Regions from separate parts of the Homo sapiens genome. Here region 2 is linked to region 1. Evidence: promoter capture Hi-C in 16 types of primary human blood cells and fetal thymus (Javierre and others, 2016). All regions are on one chromosome and are shown on one strand. The core of a region is centred on a gene start or on the middle of the fragment in contact, and the rest is flanking DNA. Distances in the headings are between cores, read along the strand shown. Region 1 holds the start of PLK2 (polo like kinase 2). Region 2 has its middle 36 kb from the start of ANKRD55.

Evidence for each region. The method cuts DNA at HindIII sites, captures the fragments that hold promoters and counts their contacts. A CHiCAGO score of 5 or more calls a contact.
Region 2: a contact is called between a fragment that was not itself captured here and the fragment with the promoter of PLK2 in region 1, in 4 of 17 cell types (total CD8 T cells, naive CD8 T cells, naive B cells and 1 more). The highest score is 8.9, in total CD8 T cells.

Annotation. Positions count from the first base shown.
Region 1 is chr5:58,458,836-58,464,099 of GRCh38, forward strand. It overlaps PLK2 (polo like kinase 2), which reads right to left and starts at 1,251. Exons shown (of 14, transcript NM_006622.4): 1 at 855-1,251; 2 at 150-257; 3 at 1-6. The coding sequence starts at 1,124. RefSeq lists a silencer at 1,569-1,748. The HindIII fragment of the contact is 4,873 bases long and covers 1-2,590 here.
Region 2 is chr5:56,266,751-56,272,014 of GRCh38, forward strand. No RefSeq gene overlaps it. Among named protein-coding and RNA genes, the nearest start is that of ANKRD55, 36 kb to the left of the region's middle. The HindIII fragment of the contact is 3,842 bases long and covers 1,384-5,225 here.

The DNA of each region.
Region 1 (5,264 bases), core at 1-2,500:
GTCAATCTAAATGAAAAAGCAAGGTAAGGCTTATTAGCTTCCAGTCACCTCGGAAAAGCCAGTGATTACACATGCAGAAGACATTTTCCTAACAGGGAAGGGCCATCCTTGCACACAAAGAAAATACTTTACTCAAGAGTCATACGCACCTTTTCCCTTTGATGAGGTTTAGCTACTCTGCTGTGAGGAATAATTTTTGCGGCGTAGACTTTGTTATTTGTCAAATCTGTCATCTCGTAACATTTTGCAAAGCCACCCTGAAAGGAAACAAAGCCGAGACGGAATTGAGGATGGCACAAAAATGGACGGCAGATATTTTAAATAAATAAATAAATGGGAAGAAAGAAAAGCAAAAAAAAAAAAATTGAGGAATGGAGGAGGGTGGACAGAGGGAGGCATTCGACTTCGTTAAAGCTCCCTCATGAAGAGAAATGCATTGCTGGAAACAGCAAGTTCAAACAGTTTCTCTTCTTCTTTTATAAAGGGGAGCTTTATGGAGGGAGTTGGAACGGGGAGACATGAAAAATAATCTCTGATGAGACTTGTCAGGAAAATTCCCTGGGAGCAGATAGAGGGAGAGAGGTCTGATGTAGAAAGCCCTCGCTTCCAGACTCAAGATGCATTTCTCTGGGCTGCGGGAGACACACAGTTCTGAGGCTAAGAATGCAAAGCCGATCCCCAGCGCTGCCGGCGCACAAAAGCCAGAGGGCAGGTGAGGAGCCCACCTCGCGCTGGGATCGGACCCCCGAAAAACCCGGAAGCGGCGGGCGAGGGACCCCGCGGGCTTGCCCGGCTTGGGGTCGCCCGGACAGACCTCCCGCCCGCCCGGCAGCCCGGCGCCCTCCGCTTGTCACCTTTCCCAGCACTTTGCCCCGGCAGTAGCGCTTCCCAGTCGTGGGGTCGACGATAATCCGCGAGATCTCCGGCCCCGAGTGCGAATGGTGGTGATGGTGGTGAGGGGCCGCCGGGGGCACTTGCGCCTGGGACTGAGGTGGCTGCGATTCCTCGGGGGGCTGCGGCGGCCGCTTCTTCTTCGAGTCCGCTCCGCAACCCTTGCCCAGCGCCTGCTCGCACATTTTGGTGCTGGCGGCTGGCTGGTAGGTGATAGTCCGCAAAAGCTCCATGGTCGCCTTGCCGCCCCGCACTGCCCGCTGCCACCCCCTAGGCGCGGTCACACGTCCGAGCCGGCCGTGGTCCTCGCACCCTTGCCTCTGGTGCCGACTAGCACCCAACACCCCGGTCCACTTGTGCGAGTGAGAGCGCTCGGCGAAGTCTTATATACGGGGAGGCGGGAAGGGGGCGGAGACTCGATACGCGACATCACGTCACGGCCTATGCCCCGCCCCACGGCCGGCCGAGCGCGCGTGGCCGGGAAGCAAGTCTTGTCCCGCCACCCGGGTCTCGCTTCCCAGCGGAGCCGCGCGCCTCAAACGCCGGCCGCCGAGATCTCTTGCGGCCGCGGGAAGGCCTTCAGAGCCGTCCGTGGGCCCCGCTGTCCCGTTCTTCGAAGGCTCCGAGCCTCAGCGTACAAAACAGAATCGCGAGGGCCGACGCCTGGCCTCACCCCCGCCCCAGCCGCCTGGTGGCAGGGCAGTGCCGTGACCCGAGCGAGTCGGGCGCGGGTGTAGACGCAGTCCCTCCCCCGCACAGCCCTTCCCGGCCGCCCGGGGCCTCCTGTGTCAAGGTATCAGGGTGCCCGGAGCCCGCCGCACGGGCAGGCGAGGCCTCCTCCGGCCGTATGACAGGGCTCGTCTGCAGCTGCCCCGCAGTGCCTGCCCGCGCTGTGACGAGCTCGCTGGTGTCTAGCTGGGGCAGTGCCGAGAGGCCGTGGGGGTGAAAGGCCGGGATTCGTGGAGCCGGGCATTCGAGCCCATCGCGCTAGGGCAGACACGGGCCCGCAGCCGGGATCCCGGGCCGATCGGCCAACCGTGCCAGGATCCCACTCGAGGCCCGTCTGGCCCCCGCCCATGCCCCTAGAGCGAGCCTCTGTCTGAGGTCGGCCCCTGAACCTTGCAGAGCGAGGTCGGCGTCCTGGCAAGGCGTCCTCCGCCCGTAGCCCGAAGATTGGAAAGCAAGGGCGCCATCTTGTGGAATGTTCCGGAATGCCGTTAGGTGTCGAAGTGGGCAGCGGTTGACAACCGTGGGCCTTTGACAGTTACTAGTACTAAACATCGATGCCGATTGTGAGTTTCCAATCAGAGTCATCTATGACTTCTTCCGAATGCATCTGTTGAGATGGCTCATGAGCTGCCCTGGTTCCTGGAGAGTCAATCTGAGACTTTCTGGGGTAGGGAGATTGGTAGGATGAAGAGAGGAGCGTAGGCCAGTGAGTGCAAACACAGCTTAGTTTCCCATTTCCAGATTTTGCTGTGCAGTTTGACTAATCTAGGAACACGTTTTTTTGTTTGTTTTTCTTGTTCTAATTACGATAGAGTAACATTTATTGAGGACTGTGCAGTATTTTTAAATGCCTTATTTCATCCTACAACAATTCTGAGAGAAATATTGTAAGGAAGGAAAAATAATTTTCCACCTTTCAAAGTTTTGGCCTGGGTCGCTGTAACCAGACAGATTAACAAGAAAACAAAGAAGCTTATTAACATATACGTCTCATATATACATGGGAGATAACCAGGAAAATTAGAGATGGTTTAAAATCGGGCTTAAATACTATCTTTAGCTAAACCAAAAGAAAAGAGTGGGGCAGGCAAGTTAAGGAATCATGACCAGGAAATGTACGGTAAACAGGAGTGGGGTTTCTTATTTCTTCATTGATAAGTTTTTCATGATTTAGAGTCATTCTTCCTGGTACAGAGGAGACACTTTTACAAATGGAGTTTTGTGGGGTTTTTTTGTTTTTTGTTTTTGTTGTTTTTTTTTTTAGTGAATGTACGTTTCCCTTACGAAAGGGTAATATGCCATTTTTAGAGCATTTCCTGGGTCTGCTGGTTCTCAAAATAATTATCTTAAAATAATCTTTATCCCAGGGCCATATTTGGGGTGGCATATTCTCATCTCCTACATTATTATTCCCATTTTATAGATGAGGCTTGGAGAACTTAGGTAATTATTGTATATTTTTACTAGATCATCGAGGTTAGGTTAATTAGCAGCACACTTGAATCTTTTTACCTATGTTAACAGGATATGGTAAATAGTTTTTTGAAGCTAAATTCCAGAGAAATTTAGAATACCAGATTATTGAATCCCTGGAAGGTACATACAAAAAGTTGCTGCAGTCCACTGTCAAATTTAGGTATGTGTGGTATCAACATTAATCGAACATTTACAAAAATACTGTGTCTCAAATACTTCCAGCATAATGTGGAAAAGAGGCTTATTGCCATTAGAGAGGAGAAAGGGAAAGGCTTTGCCATTAGCGAGGAGAAAGGGAAAGTCTTTGCTGTCACTTCCGTTTTTGATTCTTTAAAGAGTGCAGGGCAAGTCCAGGCATGTTTCTCATAAGTGACAATAGACTTTAACCCCAAGATTGTCAGGGATGGAATAAGGGGTGGGGCTTAGGGGTGGAAATTCAGAATTACGTAATTATCCTCTTTATTCATAAGCCCAGGGGTGACCTTTGCTTCCCAGATTTGTGCAAACCTACTCTCTAAGATGTAGAAGGCTTGCAGGTTTAGAAAATATTACTAGAATTTATCAAAGCTAGTTTACACACCATGTCTTTATGGTTGATAATAAACTGTATATGTATACATATGTGTGTATGTGTATGTGTATTCATTTGTGGCCTAAGATAAAAAACTGAAGAATAGATTGTCATGATTTTTTTTTAAATGTCAATTTCTTCTTTGATTAGCATACACTATGGTATGTATCTTTACCAAATGGACTTCAGTATTTGATAAACTGTTGAACATTCCATGTGAAATTCAGGTCTGTCTGCCACAACATGGAGGCATTTAATAAAATATTAACGCTGTGTAAATCTTATGTTGTCTTCTTTCCGACTGAGAACATGATTTTTTTGGGGTTGTGGTGCCATCATGTGGACAGAACCAAAATTGTAGTCTATAGAACAAAAAAGGAAATAAATGCGCTTTCTATTAAGTAGACTAATTACTAAATATCATGGAGTCAATTTGGTAACCAGTAGGAAGGAAAAAATGGATCCATGCTTCATATCTGGCTTATTTTCAAGCAAATGAAAGTTTGAAATACGTGAAATTTTAAGACAATATGAAAGAATTCTTTCATAGCCTGAATGTGGTAGAACTTTCAACTATTTACAAAATCTAGAATCCCTAAAAAAAAAAAAAAAGCAAGATTCATTAATGTAACTATATAGAAACAAAACCCTTTCATTGATTTAAAATAACAAAACACCACAAATAAAGTCAAAGGATAAATAACACTGGAAAAATTATTTTCAACTCATCACAGAGAAAGAGCTTATCTTCCTGTTATATAAAAACTCCTACAATTGGATAAAATACCAATTATCCAACAGAAAACAAATGGTTCTTACATTTGCTCAATTTCACTCTTCAGAAGAGAAATTGAAATGAAAGATATACTGAGGCACCCTTTCCTACAAAATTGGCAAAACCCTCAAAAGTTGCCGTGAACATGCTCAACTGCTGAAGTGTTGAGGAAGCAGCACTCCATATATTGCTGTTGGGAATGGAAATTGATATAATTTCAGTGAAAAGTAATTTGGCCAAATCTATCAAATTTAGAAATGAATGTATTCTCTTACTTAGGAATTTATCCTATGGATATAATCTCATATATAAAATGATGCATGACACATCAACAAATGATAAAAACCCTGGCCAAATTAAGCCCAATTCTTACATTTGTCAATAAGTTTTTATTTAAAAGAACCGTGCCCATTTGCCGGGATCTAATTAAACTAAAGAGCTTCTGCACAGCAAAAGAAACTATCGTCAGAGTGAACAGGCAGCCTACAGAATGGGAGAAAATTTTTGCAATCTATCCATCTTACAAAGGGCTAATATCCATCATCTACAAAGAACTTAAACAAATTTACAAGAAAAAAAACAACCCCATCAGAAAGTGGGCAAATGATATGAACAGACACTTCTCAAAAGAAAACATTTATGCTATCAACAAACATGAAGAAAAGCTCATCATCACTGGTCATTAGAGAAATGCAAATCAAAACCACAGTGAGATACATCTCACGCCAGTTAAAATGGCGATCATTGAGAAGTCAGGAAACAACGAATGCTGGAGAGGATGTGGAGAAATAGGAACGCTTTTACATTGTTGGTGGGAGTGTA
Region 2 (5,264 bases), core at 2,055-4,554, 2.2 Mb before region 1:
GGGTTCAAATGATTCTCCCACCTTAGCCGCCCAAGTAGCTGGGATTACAAGTGCGCCACCACACCCTGCTAATTTTTTTTTTGTATTTTTAGTAGAGATGGGGTTCCACCATGTTGACTAGGCTGGTCTCTAACTCCTGACCTCAAGTGATCCTCCTGCCCAGGCCTCTCAAAGTGCTGGGATGACAGGCATGAGCCATCGCACCCAGCCAGATGAGCATTTCTTCATATGTTTGTTGGCCACTTGCATGTCTTCTGAGAAGTGTCTGTTTAGGTCCTCTGCCCATTTTTTAATGAGGTTATTTGGTTTTTGCTTGTTGATTAGTTTAATTTCCTTATAGAGTCTGGATATTAGACTTTTTTCAGATGCATAGTTTGCAAATATTTTCTCCCGTTCCCTAGATTGTCTATTTACTCTGTTGATAGTTTCTTTTGCTGTGTAAAAGCTCTTTAGTTTAATTAGGTTCCACTCATCAACTTTGTTTTGGTTTCAATTGTTTTTATTTCCCTCTCATTTCTGAAGGCTTTTTTCAAGGAGGCCCTTCCATAATCCTAACTTCCATGTGCTTCTGTCACCTGACCACCATTATCCACCCACTAACATCCATGCAAAAAGGGTGTGCAGTGGCAGCAGGGTAACTCTTGGGACCCCAATGAGCTTTGTGCATTTTCACTTCTCAGCCTGTGTGTGCTCTCCCTCTCCTTCTCCCTCCTTCCTTGGAAGGTCTTCTCCATCCTCTCTTTACCCCAAACCACATCTACATCTCCAGGATCCCTCTTCCGTGAAGGTCTCATCCATCCCATGCTGATCTCCCCACTTTGAACTCCCTTTGCTCTTATGAGGCATTACAGATTGCTGGATATTTAAAGGCATGGTCTTTGGTGTCGGACAGCCTGGAATAAAATCCTGGCAAATGATTTAAACTTTATGTGGGTTGGTTTCCTTACCCCTAAAGTGGCAATAATTATAGTACCTACTTAATAAAGTTGTTTTGAGGATTCAACAACATGATTTATATAAAGCATTTAGCACAGTCGTTGGAACAGAGTAAACACTCAATACACTGCCACTATTACTATCCTGATCAGTATTATCAGTAAAGAGATTACTTGATACTTCTTTATTGCTTGTATCGGATTGGGCCTCATCTTCCTAGGTAGATAGCTTCTTATATTCAGGGACTGTGTCCCATGTTTCTTTGCTGCAACCCTTGCATTCATTGCCTTATATACTCCCTGAACATGGCAAGTACACCACAACTTCTTATTGCTTGATCAGTCTTGTCTAGTATTAAGAAATAAAACCGATCTTTGGTTAATTTTTAGTAAAGCCACATAGACACTGATTGAGGATGCCATTGCCATGTGCCAAGAATATCTACAAAGCTTTCTGATTAGAGACAGTGGCCCATTCAGAATTCACAGAGTAGCCTGTCTGACTGTAATATACATTTTATTTAATTTTTTGAGACAGGGTCTCGTTGTTGCCCAGGCTGGAGTGCAGTGGTGTGATCTCGGCTAACTGCAGCCTCGACCTCCTGGGCTCAAATGACCCTTGCACCTCAGCCTTCCATGTAGCTGGGACTACAGGCATGCACCACCACACCCATCACACTTGGCTAATTTGTGTAATTGTTCTTTTTAGAGATGGGGTTTTGCCGTGTTGTCCAGGCTGGTCTCAAACTCCTGAGCTCAAGTGATTTGCCTGCCTCAGCCTCCCAAAGAGCTAAGGTTATAGGTGTGGGCCACTGTGCCTGATTATAATATACATTTTATTAAAACAAAGAGTTCATATCCTTTTTAAAGTTTATTTTTTTTTACTGTAAGTTCTGGGGTACATGTGTAGAATGTGCAGGTTTGTTACATAGGTACACACGTGCCATGGTGGTTTGCTACACCCATCAGCCTGTCATCTACATTAGGTATTTGTCCTAATGCTATCCCTCCCCTAGTCCCCCACCCCCCGCAACAGGCTCCAGTATGTTATGTTCCCCTCCCTGTGTCCATGTGTTCTCATTGTTCAACTCCCACTTATGAGTGAGAACATGAAAGTGTTTGGTTTTCTGTTCCTGTGTTAGTTTCCTGAGAATGATGGTTTCCAGCTTCATCCATGTCCCTGCAAAGGACATGAACTCATCCTTTTTTATGGCTGCATAGTATTCCATGGTGTCTATGTCCATTCTATCCATTCTTTATCCAGTCTATCATTGATGGGCATTTGGGTTGGTTCCAAGACTTTGCTATTGTGAGTAGGGCTGCAATAAACATACGCATGCATGTGTCTTCATAGTAGAATGATTTATAATCCTTTGGGTATATACCCAGTAACGGGATTACTGGGTCAAATGGTATTTCTGGTTCTAGATCCTTGAGGAATCACCACACTGTCTTCCACAGTGGTTGAACTAAATTACACTCCCACCAACAGTGTAAAAGCATTCCTATTTCTCCACATGCTCTCCAGCATCTGTTGCAAAACAAACAGTTTATTTCCTATACAATTTGCTCATTGTCTATAACATTGGGAAATAAAGGAGAAAAGTGTGACAAGTGACTAAATAATTTCAGTGATGACTAGGACATTTGTGAAGTTTATCAGCCAACAAAACATAATAAAATTGAGTTGGTCCCTAGTCTCCCAAATATCCCCTCTCTGCAGCTCTGGAGGGCTGTGACGTCAACGAGGAATAATGGCTCGCGTCCACGGTTCTGGTTGTTTTCTCCTTCAGTTTTCACAATTCTTTTTTTTTTTTTTTTTTTTTAAGTGCTAACCTGCTTTCTTTCTCTCTGCCAGGGGTGGATGTGATTACAAAGCTCTTCTCAGCCTCAGGTAAAGATTATTGTTACCTGTGGTCCTGAGAGACCTGGCTCTATTTCTCAAACCTTTTGTATGTGTGCTGGGAAACCCTAGGGTTAAATGTCACTTCTCTAGAGAGCTGGGGGAACTTTCACCACCACAAAGTGGCCTAATCCCACGCTCTGTCTGAGGGTTTCTCTGGAGTCCCTCTGCTGGCCATGAGAAACAAGAGCAGAAAGCAGTTCTTTAGAATAAGAAACCCAGAATTTTGTATTTGAAAGTGATACATAGAGATGTAGAGAGGCAAGACTTTTCCTGCTCAGCAAAGGGAAGTCACACTCAGGTTATGATCTAAAGCAGTGAGACTAGGTGCAAAATCAAAATTAATTTAATACAGGGTACTGGAAAAAAATAATTCCTTTGAGGAATAACTGGAATGTACAACTAATGTTTGGTTTTTAGAACAAGGCTGGAAGGCATGTTCCTTACCCACAAATACTCCGCCTTTCCCCCAGGTTGCTTTGGTCTGGTCTAATTCATGAGTCAGATTACCAAGGTATCATACAAATAGACAGACGCCATACAGATACCAAACTGAACCGATGGAATCAGACACTTGAGTGTGCGCAATTGATGCAGCACTCTGATTACGGACTGGGCTTTGTGGTCCATTGGCCCTGGGTTTCATTAACTGTCCAGGCTCCCTCCAGAGACTCAGGGCATGTTTTGTTGCTGTGGGTGGTGCTCTTGCTCTATCAAAGGGACCGCAAGAGAGTATGCGCTTCAGATGATGACCAGTATAGGTGCTGAAGGACTTCTTATACAAAAAGAAGCAGCTCCTGGTGTTTGTCACCAAAAGGATGAGAAAAAGAGAAATGAAAATCAACCACATATGCAACAATGTCATATCTTCTCGACTCATTTTCTGATCAAACGAAAATGAAAATAAAATCCATGCACTATACAATGACTTAGAAATATCTACCAGCCCAGAGAAGTAGATAAAGAGTGAAAATATTTCAAAGGAGATGGATGAGAAATAGATGGCACTTGGTGGAAAGTCCTGACAATACAGCAAAGGAGAAACTGGTCACTTGTGTTTAGGAAAGGGCAATGTACTGAGGGGCCTTGGCCATCCCTGAGGTGCAATGCATGACAGCAGCCAGTGGGGGTCAGAGGTGCTCCATGGCTTAGAGCGCCTTTAACCCTCAGCCTGCAAATCCTGCGCACAGGAGACCAGCTGGACCTCCTTTGGAGCTGGTACTTCCCTCCAGGCAGAGCAGAACTGTGAAAACATAGGAGGTGGTTGATCTCATATGCTTTACCACAAGCGCACTTTTGACTTCAAGACAGTTTGCTGATTTTATTTTTTCTTTCACTTATTCTCTTCCCGTTTCTCTTGTTCCCAGCAAAAACCTCTCTGTTGATCATGGATACAGGACAGTCATCTCTCTGAGTTAAGCATGTGAACACCCAAAATCAAGGACTATAGCCTGTTTCCTGAACCCTTATCTCTCTAGGGTACAGAACTTTTTTTAAGTCACTGGCAGTTTGGAGACAATGCTTAAGTGGGTGGGTGGTTCTGGTTGGTTTATAGGTACACACGGGCATCCGGGCTGGAGGTGGCTCACACAAGCTCATGAGAGCCAGTTGTGTAATCTCTTCCCTGCCCCTAGTTAAGTGATGTCATGTTGGTAGCTTGATGTTGGCCATGGTGGGAGTATTTATGCTACAAAAATGGCCATTTACTGCAAATCAGGACTACCCCTCTCCCTGCAGCACCCCAGAAAGCTGGTTGTTAAATACAATGAGTACACCAATGGCCCCAGGGCAGGTTTAAGAGTCAGAGAAGGTATAAATTGCTGGTCAGGCCTGGTGGCTCATGCCTATAATCCCAACAGTTTGGGAGAGTGAGGTGGGAGGATCACTTGAGCCCAGGAGTTTGAGACCAGTCTGGGCAACATAGTGGGACCCCATCTCTACAAAAAAATTGGCTGGGTGTGGTGGCACACACCGGCTACTAGGGAGGCTGAGGCAGGAAGATCACTTGAGCCCTTGAGGTTGCAGTGAGCCATGATTGTGCCACTGCACTCCAGCCTGAGTGACAGAGCAAGACCCTGTCTCAAAAAAAAAAAAAAAAATTACTTAGCCTCATGTATGTTCATGTTCAGGCCACAATGCATCTAGTGAAAAGAAAAAGGAGCAGTGTTTGATTAGCTGAGAGGATCTTCCAGTATGAACCATTCCAGAAACTATAGTCAACAATCCTTTAAAGATGCCTTTCCTATTAAGGGCAAGCAAGAAATTAAATAAAATTTTTGTTTGTAATTTTTAACAGTTGAATTGCAGTACTAAGTGGCTCATGAAGCCATGCAACATCTTTTTCCTTTCAATTTTGAGCCTTAGGAAAAATGTGAGCTTTCTTAGAAAGCTTGTAACATCAGATTTATCGTTTTTATGAAGCAAAA